Regions from separate parts of the Homo sapiens genome. Here all the other regions are linked to region 2. Evidence: promoter capture Hi-C in human tissues and cell types (Jung and others, 2019). All regions are on one chromosome and are shown on one strand. Each heading gives the region's core, a stretch centred on a gene start or on the middle of the fragment in contact. The rest is flanking DNA. Distances are from core to core; before and after follow the strand shown. Region 1 holds the start of TRAP1 (TNF receptor associated protein 1). Region 2 overlaps ADCY9 (adenylate cyclase 9). Region 3 holds the start of CORO7 (coronin 7).

The links. Contacts are between HindIII fragments. The study calls those that stand out against the background at their distance.
Region 1: a contact is called between the fragment with the promoter of TRAP1 here and a fragment that was not itself captured in region 2, in 3 of the 25 tissues and cell types used here (bladder, heart right ventricle and mesenchymal stem cells).
Region 3: the fragment with the promoter of CORO7 here is called in contact with a fragment that was not itself captured in region 2 in 1 of the 25 tissues and cell types used here (dorsolateral prefrontal cortex).

The regions. Positions count from the first base shown.
Region 1 is chr16:3,716,108-3,719,585 of GRCh38, reverse strand. TRAP1 (TNF receptor associated protein 1) reads left to right here and starts at 2,062. Exons shown (of 18, transcript NM_016292.3): 1 at 2,062-2,165. The coding sequence starts at 2,078. RefSeq lists silencers at 1,712-2,321, 2,342-2,461. The HindIII fragment of the contact is 28,184 bases long and covers 1-3,478 here.
Region 2 is chr16:3,974,257-3,977,635 of GRCh38, reverse strand. It overlaps ADCY9 (adenylate cyclase 9), which reads left to right. Exons shown (of 11, transcript NM_001116.4): 9 at 6-154; 10 at 2,926-2,967. Among named protein-coding and RNA genes, the nearest start is that of TRIDDENT, 26 kb to the right of the region's middle. The HindIII fragment of the contact is 3,508 bases long and covers 1-3,004 here.
Region 3 is chr16:4,415,254-4,418,767 of GRCh38, reverse strand. CORO7 (coronin 7) reads left to right here and starts at 2,172. Exons shown (of 28, transcript NM_024535.5): 1 at 2,172-2,309. The coding sequence starts at 2,250. CORO7-PAM16 (CORO7-PAM16 readthrough) reads left to right here and starts at 2,172. Exons shown (of 31, transcript NM_001201479.2): 1 at 2,172-2,309. The coding sequence starts at 2,250. It overlaps LOC124903635 (a long non-coding RNA gene), which reads left to right. Exons shown (of 3, transcript XR_007064963.1): 3 at 1,807-2,043. The HindIII fragment of the contact is 38,450 bases long and covers 1-3,514 here.

The DNA.
Region 1 (3,478 bases), core at 813-3,312, 260 kb after region 2:
CCTCCTGGGTTCCAGCGATTCTCCTGCCTTAACCTCCTGCGTAGCTGGGATTACAGGCATGCGCCACCACGCCTGACTGATTTTTTGTATTTTTAGTAGAGACGGAGTTTCTCCCTGTCAGTCACGCTGGTCTCGAACTCCCGACCTCAGGTGATCTGCCCGCCTCAGCCTCCCAAAGTGCTAGGATTACAGGCGTGAGCCACTGCTCTTGGCCTAATTTTTGTATTTTTAGTAGAGATGGGGTTTTGCCATGCCGACCAGGCTGGTCTCAACCTCCTGACCTCAAGTGATAAGACCACCTTGGCCTCCTAAAGTGCTGGAATTACATGCGTAAGCCACCATGCCAGGCCACCTTTGCAGGTCTTTTCCTGATCCTGAGGGTCTAGGAATTTTTAACGGTCTGAATAAACAATATTTGCGAAAACATTTGCCATCTATTACCTGTAAGGGTGGTCATCTATGAGACTTCCTCTACATAATAAGAACCTTGGTCTTCACAACCTGTTTTTTGTTTGTTTGTTTGTTTGTTTGTTTTGAGACAGGGTGTGGCTCTCTTGCCCAAGCTGGAGTTCAATGGCACGAACTTGGCTCACTGCAACCTCTCCCTCCTGGGCTTAAGCAATCCACCCACCTCAGCCTCCCTTGTAGCTGGGATTACAGGCCTCCGCCACCACATCCGGTACAGGTATGTTTGGTACAGACAGGGTCTCACCATGTTGCCCACGCTGCTCTCCAACTCCTGACCTCAAGCAATTCGCCCACCTCGGCATCCCAAAGTGTTGGGATTACAGGTGTGAGTCACCGTGCTCGTGCCCACAACCCCTTATCTTCACCCAGACACTCTTTTTATTGATTCCAGGTCTGTATAACTCAACTCTTTTTTTTCTTTTTTTTGTTTTCTTTTTTTTTTTTTTTTGAGACGGAGTCACAGCTCTGTCGCCCAGGCTGCAGTGCAAGTGGCACGATCTCGGCTCACTGCAACCGCAGCCTCCCGGGTTCACGCTATTCTTCCGCCTCAGCCTCCCCAGGAGCTGGGACTACAGGCACGTGCCACCTTGCCCAGCTAATTTTTTGTATCTTAGTAGAGATGATGGGTTTTCACCATGTTGGCCAGGCTGGTCTCGGACTCCTGACCGCAGGCAGTCCGCCCACCTCAGCCTCCCAAAGTGCTAGGATTACAGGCGTGAGCCACCGCGCCCAACCAGAACTCAACTCTTTTAACCAATTGCCAATCAGAAAGTATCTGAATCCACCTATGACCTCTAAGTATTTCACCCTTTGAGTTGTCCTGCCTTTCCACACGGAACCAACCTATGTCTTACATGCATTGACTGATGTCTTATGTCTCTCTAAAATGTATAAAACCAAGCAAGCTGTAACCCAAGCACCTTGGGCCAAGTTCTCAGGACCTTTTGAGACTGTGCCTCCCTCCATGCACACTCATATTTGGCTCAGAATAACCTTCTAAATACTTTAGAGTTTGACTCTTCTCGACAAGGACAAGAGAAGTGGAATAAACGAATAACCGCAGTTTTCCTGGTGGTATTGGTCACTGGGTTCAGGTTTTGGAGTAGTAGCCAGTCAAGCCTGGAATCCCCTTCCTCATTCGCTTTAGCTTTTTGTCCAGTCTTGGTTTGCAAGAGACTTGCAGCGGCCTAGACGGATGGCCGGGATTCACAAAGGTCGCAGACACGGGAACTGCTTCTTCCCCAGCGTCGCCTCCACACCCTCGCGTGGATACTGACATCCGCCCCATTCCAGGAATGCGCACAGCTAGGCGCAGCCGGCCAGCGTGGGCCGGGGGCGGCGGGGCCACCTCCCCCACCTCCGCGCGCAAGGCCCGTCGCCCTTGACAACGCGATCCAAGGTCACGGAGGTCCCACCCCCAGGCCCGACCGTCCACGAGACGGGTAGTACCCCGCCACGCGCCCGAGCAGGCAGCTGCCCGGACAGCCCGGCGCCCGCCGTGACGTCACCGCCCCGCGCCCGAGGAAGCCCCGCCCCGCGCAGCCCCGTCCCGCCCCTTCCCATCGTGTACGGTCCCGCGTGGCTGCGCGCGGCGCTCTGGGAGTACGACATGGCGCGCGAGCTGCGGGCGCTGCTGCTGTGGGGCCGCCGCCTGCGGCCTTTGCTGCGGGCGCCGGCGCTGGCGGCCGTGCCGGGAGGTGAGGGCGTCCTGGCTGGACGGGCAGCGGGCGGGCCGGGCCACGGAGACGGCAGGGACGTCCCTGTGCTCCGGGGAGCGAGGCGCCGGCACCTGCTTCACAGGCGTGGGAGGTCCGGCGAGGCCAAGCGCGGCAGACGCGTTTACTTTCGCTCCGCTCCTCGCCAGCTCCAGCTTGGCTGCCTTTTCCTCGGCTGGACTCCCCTCGCCACCCGCCCATGGGAGCCCTGAAGGAGGCTGGGTCTTGGGGGGTCGCGGGGTCGGGCGGAGCGGCTGCGGGGTCGTCCCTCCTGGAGCTTCGGTCCAGTCAGGTAGCGCACGTGCAGGTGGAGCCGCTGCGGAGCGCGGAGTCTTTGCGGGTGCATGTTGCGGGGAATGGACTCACTCGGGGTGATCGTGCTAGTTCCATGGATCGTGCTTTACCCCTCCCCGCCTCCCAGTAGCGCACTGAGGGTTCATTTGTTAATTCGTTCATTGGACGCACATGTGAGCGCCCGCTCAGTGCCCGGCGCCGTGCAGGTTCTGGGGACGCCACAGTGAACAAAACCTATAGCAGTCATCCGGGTCCCCAGAGCAGGTGGACTCGATGTCGTTGACGCAGCTGTGTCCTCGGGGCCTGGAATTGATGGATGCGCCAATAAATGTTTGTAAAACAGAGAGAACGACCCTAACCTCTGCTTTCCCAGTCCCCACTCGGAGGTAACAACAGTGAAAGTTTCGGCATTGCTTCGGGGCTGTACACAGTGTTATACGTGTAAATATAAATGTCTGCGTATAAGTATTTTTTATTCTAAAAAGCCTAAACCATGTATGCATTGTGCTACGTTGTACTTCAGAAAATTTTAACGCTCCCAGCATTCTTTCCACATCTTTTCATGTCAGTGTATACAGGTCCATGTGCCTTCCAGTGACCACACAGTATTCTGTATGATGGACGTGTCATTTGTTTAAACATTGTCCTATTAGTGGACGCAATAAAGGTTATTTCAGGTTTTACTTTTTATTACAATGCTGCATAGAATGGGTGAGTACTTAAATATTTGTTCACGTGCGGTATTTCTTTAGCCTTACATAATTAGAATTTTAGAATTGATATTTCAGAGCCTATGCATTTTTGAAATGTTAGCAGATACTGCCAAATTGTCCAAAAAGGCCTTATCAATTTATATCCCCTTTAGCAGGCATCAAGACTGCCTATTCCAAAGGTATTTTCTTCAACGCTGAATCTTATGTCTTTTCAAAACCAGTGGTCTATAAAAGATACCTTGTGGCCGGGCGCGGTGGCTCACGCCTGTAATCCTAGCACTTTGGGAG
Region 2 (3,379 bases), core at 1-2,500:
TGCAGTTCCCAGTGTTCACAGGCTCGGCCGCGCTGATTGCCGTCGTGCACTACTGTAACTTCTGCCAGCTCAGCTCCTGGATGAGGTCCTCCCTCGCCACCGTCGTGGGGGCCGGGCCGCTGCTCCTGCTCTACGTCTCCCTGTGCCCAGACAGGTACGCGGCCAGCACTGCTTGCGGGCACCAGGGTGCGTGGCCACCTTGCCCGAGGTTGCGTAGGGCCTGGCTGCATTTGCACATTGCTTCTCACGCCCCGATAGAGATATTTCCCATCATGACCCAAAATAGCTGTCAGCACACATCATACCAAAGAGCTAATGAGATGCCCTCAGAGTAATATGCAAAAGAAAGAAAAAGAATATCATTTAGAACAGCACTCTGGGTAGTTGAATGTAGACATCCTGGAAAACATAATGCTGCCATTGCATTATACCGAGGTGACTTCTGATGAATGGGCTGGAATCTAAGAAAGTAGGACCTGAAGGATTTCATAGAAGATGGTCAAGGCCATGAAAGAGCGGAGCTGCAGATGGATGTGAAGGTGGAGAGGAAGCTGGTGCTGACTTTCCTTGAGTGGGGTAGGGTTCATGAACCGGGACAGGTCACAGCCTGGAAGGAGGAGGTGAAGACGTAGGATGATCTTGCAAGTCACCTGGGGCTTATTTCAAAATATTATGTCAGGCTGGGCACAGTGGCTCATGCCTGTAATCCCAGCACTTTGGGAGGCCAAGGCAGGCAGATCACCTGAGGTCAGGAGTTCAAGACCAGCCTGGCCAACATGGTGAAACCCCGTCTCTACGAAAAATACAAAAATTAGTCAGGCATGGGGGCGTGCACCTGTAATCGCAGCTACTTGGGAGGCTGAGGTAGGAGAACCGCTTGTACCCGGGAGGCGGAGGTTGCAGTGAGCTGAGATTGTGCCATTGCACTCCAGCCTGGGTGACAAGAGTGAGATTCCATCTCAAAAACAAAAAATAATAAATAGGTCAAAACAGTTCCCCATATGATGTCATGAGACGTAGGATTAATGACCAGTCACTGAACATAGGTCTTTTATTTTGAAATCCTCTGCATACTGAGGAGGACGCTGGCCTTCAGAACCGTATCACTGGTAGGTGCTGAGGAATGGGATGGCGCAGACACAGAAACAGGAGTCAGGGAGGCCGGTAGACCTCTGGGGACAAGCCCAGTTCTCATCATTGTACTACAAAAAATGTAAAAACTTACAGGATGGCAGTGATAGGTGCTATATTTAAAATATTTGCCATTAGCGACATCCAGTAAGATCCCTATCTTTCATGTGTTGCACTAACTGAATAATTCTTGATTTGTTAAAAATAAGTCCCAGCCGGTCTTGGTGCTCACGCCTGTAATCCTACCACTTTTGGGAGGCTGAAGCGGGTGGATTGTCTGAGCTCAGGAGTTCAAGACAGCCTGGGCAACACGGTGAAACCCTGTCTCTACTAAAAATACAAAAAATTAGCCAGGCATGGCGGTGTGCACCTGTAGTCCCAGCTACTCAGGAGGCTGAGGCAGGAGAATTGGTTGACCCTGGGAGGCGGAGGTTGCAGTGAACCGAGATCGCGCCACTGCACTCCAGCCTGGGTGACAGAGCAAGACTCAGTCTCCAAAAATAAAAATAAAAAATAAGTCTCAAAATTGCCTATTACACATTTGCTACTGGTTTCAGGGTATTTTAAGCCTTTTCAACTAAATGTGTTGTTGGAAATACAGTAATACCTTGTATAACAGAATGTAAGCAGTGAACAATTTATTCAAATATTTCGTGATATCTTAAACCCATTAAGCTTCCATTCATGTAATAAATTTCTCCCAAATATTGGGCTTTTCCTATAACTGCTTATAAAAATGTTTCACTATTAGTGTGTATTGAAGAACCGCCTGTTTACAATTACAGAGGGTTTAGGTGCGCAGAATGTTTTAAAGTCACATGGGACATTTCTTCCTTGTCCTTGCAGGAGATCTAACATTCTGGCTCCCTGAGTTATTAAGAGAACCAGAGGGACCCCTGGCATTTCCGAAATGCCCCGTTGGAGTGGCATTGCTGTTGCCAAGGACCTCTGCTTGAATTCATTCAAAAGCACAAAATGATTCTATTTGCCGCAGTATTGTCAGTATCAGACGGAGTAGGCACGGGGTGTCTTTGGTTATTAGCAAAGCAACAGTCCAGCCATGGGCAGTGTGAGCATCCGTCCTCAGTTTACTTAAGAAAAGAATCACAATACAAAAGACATTTAAATTCCCTGCAAATTAAGATCAAAAAGGGAATTTAAAATAGGACTGTCATTCAGTACTTGAAAGGAAACTTTAATGAATAGATTAAGCAAAATAAAGCAGACTTGGATTTTTCTGAAGGTATGGCCATCTAGAACGATGGTCACGATGAGCTCTTTCTCGAGAGTATGAAATCCAGCAAACTGCTTTTTACCTTTTAAATCCATCACAGGTCCCTCATCGGGCATTCACCGTGGCCTTTAGTCATGGCTGCGGGGCTTTTCTACCTGGAGCTGGAGAGCCACAGTGATGGGGGACCCCTCTGCCGCCTTTGTGCCCAGAGTTCAAATAGCAGATCTGGGGTAGGGATGATGGTTGAAGTTCCACTCGGCCCAGAACTCCTCCATCCACTTGAGGCCTCAGAGCCCCTAATCCCATCACGGTTGCTAAGCCTCAGCAGGATAGAGAGGATGCGGGATGGTAAACAAAGACGTAAACTCAGCTTTACCAAGGGAACTGCCCCCAGCATTGGGAGACACAGATGTGAAGAAAGAGGTGGGAGCAGGTGGCTTTATGTGGATGTACAACCACGTCTAAAAAAGGAACATAGTTTGTTCAAGCTCTTCTCAGGTTGCCTTGTGGAATGCCTTCTTTGCTCTTTATGATAATATTTTTCTGCATTTTAATTTCAGTTCTGTATTAACTTCGCCCCTTGACGCAGTACAGAATTTCAGGTAAGCTTTTAATATTGCACTTCTGTCTGAATAAACGAGAGTGACTGTATTACCCTGCCCATTTCGAAGCTTCCTGAAAACAATGGGATCTTGAATAAAAGGAACAATACGTGCATTCTTAGAATAGAAAGTGGAAAATATCTCCTCGTTGAACTGTATCATAGTTATAATGTCTAATGGGGAAAATAAAATTAGTTTTATTATTTTAATAAGACATTACAGTCATGTAATTTTATGTAAGACTTTCGCATGCAACAAAGGAAATCTCGCAAATCAAAGAAAAAAGTTATTTTGTAAAATATTTTAAAATAACCGACTTGAAATCAGCCAGGCACGGTGGCTCACGCCTGTAATCCCAGCATTTTGGGAGGCCGAGGCGGGCGGATCACGAGGTCAGGAGATGGAGACCATC
Region 3 (3,514 bases), core at 923-3,422, 440 kb before region 2:
TGTCTGTAGCAGGTGCAGTTCCCTATGAAAGGGGATGATGAGCTGTGCCTCGGTCGCCTAGGATCCAGTGGGACCACTGTCCTGATGATTTTCTTTCTTTCTTTTTTTTTTTGAGACAAAATCTCGCTTTTGTCTCCCATACTGGAGTGCAATGGCATGATCTCGGCTCATTGCAACCTCCACCTCCCGGGTTCAAGTGATTCTCCTGCCACAGCCTCCCGAGTAGCTGGGATTACAGGCACCTGCCACCACGCCTTGTATTTTTAGTAGAGACGGGGTTTCACCATGGTGGCCAGGCTGGTCTTGAACTCCTGACCTCAGGTGATCCACCCACCTCGGCCTCCCAAAGTGCTGGGATTATAGGCGTGAGCCACCATGCCCAGCCACTTGATGATTTTCTTTTTTTTTCTTTTTTTTTTTTTTTTTGAGACAGAGTCTCGCCCTGTCACCCAAGCTGGAGTTCAATGGCACGATCTCGACTCACTGCAACCTCCGCCTCCCGGGTTCAAGCAGTTCTCTGCCTCAGCCTCCCAAGTAGCTGGGATTACAAGCACCCACCACCACGCCCAGCTAATTTTTATATTTTTAGGACAGACAGGGTTTCACCATCTTGGCCAGGCTGGTCTTGAACTCCTGACCTGGTGATCCACCCACCTTGGCCTCCCAAAGTGCTGGGATTACAGGCGTGAGCTACCGCGCCCGGCCAACCTGATGATTTTCTAAAAACCTTTTTGGACTGGGCGCAGTGGCTTATGCCTCTAATCCCAGCACTTTGGGAGGCTGAGGCAGGTGGATCACTTGAGGTCAGGAGTTTGAGACCAGCCTGGCCAACATGGCAAAATCCCATCTCTACTAAAAATACAAAAATTAGGAGTAGTGGCGCACACCTGTAATCCCAGCTGCTTGGGAGGCTGAAGCAGGAGAATCGCTTGAACTCAGGAGGTGGAGGTTGCAGTGAGCTGAGATGACACCACTGCACTCCAGCCTGGGCAACAGAGTGAGACTCTGTCTCAAAACAAACAAACAAAAAGCCTTTTCAATAAACCACAAGTGACTTTGGTTCACAGTAAATACACTTCTGCCCGAACTAAGATAAAATGTAAGCATTGCTTTTCAAACCTTAGAAATGCAAGAATCAGCTGGGTGCGTTGGCTCATTCCTATAATCCCCACACTTTGGCAGGCCAAGTTGGGAGGACTGCTTGAGTCTCGTTCGAGACCAGCCTGACCATCATGGTGAAACCCCGTCTCTTACTAAAAATAAAAAATTAGTTGGGCGCGGTGGCAGGCGCCTGTAATCCCAGCTATTCGGGAGGCTGAGGCAAGAGAATTGCTTGAACCCGCGAGGCAGAGGGTGCAGTGAGCTGAGATCGCGCCACTGCACTCCAGCCTGGGTGACAGGGACTCCGTGTCAAATAAATGAATAAATACTAAAGAAAAATTAAAAGCTATTATTATTATTATTTTTAGAGGCAGGGTCTCTTTCTGTCTCCCAGGCTGGAGTGCAGTGGCACGGTCACAGATAACTGCAGCCTCGACCTCTTGGGCTCAAGGGATACTCCTGCCTCAGTCTCCCAAAGTTCGGGATTACAGACCTGAGCCACCGCGCCTGGCCGGATGCAGAGCGCCTGGCCGGATGCAGAGGCTTTTGAGTAGGCCCGGTGGACAGGGATTTGCTTTAGACCTGGGCCCCTGTTCCCCCTCTGCCTCTTACCACTGGTGTGACCTGGGGACCGACAGTTTACACTCTCCTTTAGCCGGGGGTTTCCTGTCTCTGAAATGGAGCTAATTTCTCCCCTCTCTACAGGAAGAGGTAGATAGTGCTGGAAGGCGTGCTAGGTACACCGCAAAGACTCCACAGCAAATCCTGCACACAAAATCGCGAATGCTGCAGCCGAGACCCCACGCAAGCAAGCACCGCAGGAGACGTGGGCTGACAGCTGCGCCCCACGTGACCTCCCACCCGCGCCAGTCCGTCCCCTCGGTATCAGGGCGTGGCCTCGCGGGGCGGCCGTACCTGGATTGGCCGGGAGGCGGGACCGGTGGTGCGCGCGCGAAAGGAGAGGGGCTTGGGGGCGTGGCCCAGGGGGCCGGAGACGGCTGCGATTGGCAGTGGGGCGCGCCGGGGGCGTGACCGCGGCATTGGGTCCCGGGTGGGGCCGAGGCAGCGGGAGTCGCGGTTGCTCAGCGTGCACCTGAGACCCGACGCCCGGGGTCCTCGAAGACGCGTCCGCCGCCGTGCCCGTCGCCATGAACCGCTTCAGGGTGTCCAAGTTCCGGCACACCGAGGCTCGGCCGCCCCGCCGCGAGGTGAGTCCGGCCCGAGGACCGGGCGCTGTCGCCTCGGGCCCCGTCCGGCTGCCCCTCCCCCTGCCCGGACCCCACAGGGGTGCCCTCCAGGGCCGTCTGGAACCCCGAGACCTCCATCCCCGGGGAACCCCCCTTCAGGCCAGGGCCCCGGCGTCCGGGCCGTTTCGTCGCCGCCGGAGGGCAGAGTCCGGCACTCCCGTGACTCGCTCTGGCGCTCGGTGACCCTGGCGGTCTGCCCGCCTCGCCCACCTCGCCCCGGGACCCCCGAGGCGGCGCAGCCCTCCTAGCCGGGGCCCAGGCCTGCGAGGCCGCCTGCCTTCCCAGCTTCCGGTCGGCCTCGCCGGGAGCCGGGGCTCGGGGCGCTGCCGGCGCCTGGCTCCTCCTCCCTGCCGCCCCGGGTCGCCCCTGCCCCTGGCTGGGCTGTGGGGAGACGCCCCTCTCTCCTCTGGCCCCGGCGAGCCCAAGTGTGTCAGTGGTGGGGAGGGAGCCCCTCGGCCGCACGCGCCCCTCCCTCGGGTTTCCGCCGGTGCTTCCTCCTCTCGCCGCTGGCGCAAGCTCTTTCTTTATCTCGGTGATGCTGCCACGGCTGGGTGGGGCCTGGGGAAGCCTGAGCAGGTGGAGCCCCAAAGAATTGCTGAGCCAGGTGCCGGGAGACCCTTCGGACCCCCGAAACGGCAGGAGGACTGATGAGGGGTGCGCCTTGGAAACGATGTCAGCTCTGCTCTTCCGCTTTCCGTGTTATTTGTAAGGCCTGGGAGTGTCCTCCGATAACTGGGCCTAGGAGTTGACCTCAAGTGACCCCATCAGGGTCCCAGAGCAAGTCAGGGCAGTCTGGGTAGAGGTTCCGTTTTTGTAGTGTGGACTATATTTCCTCTGCTTCCACTTTATGCTGTGCTAAGCTGCTGGAGACATCCCGGTGAACACAACGGCATTTTCCTTCCCCTGTGGCACTTGTAGCCTCATGAGGGAGACAGCAAGCAGACAAACAAGAGCATTGGAGGTTTTCATAACGACATTGAAGAACACACATGAGGGACTGGGATGGAGAATGGAGGGGGCCAGTCTCAGTAGCGTGGTCAGGAAAGGCTGCCTGGAGTAGATGGCATTTTAGCTGAGGCCAGAAGGGTGAGAATTGAGAAAGAGCCTGGTGGAGAAATGGAAAGTGAGCATGAGTGGATGGAGGGGATGGCCGGAGCAGTATGGTG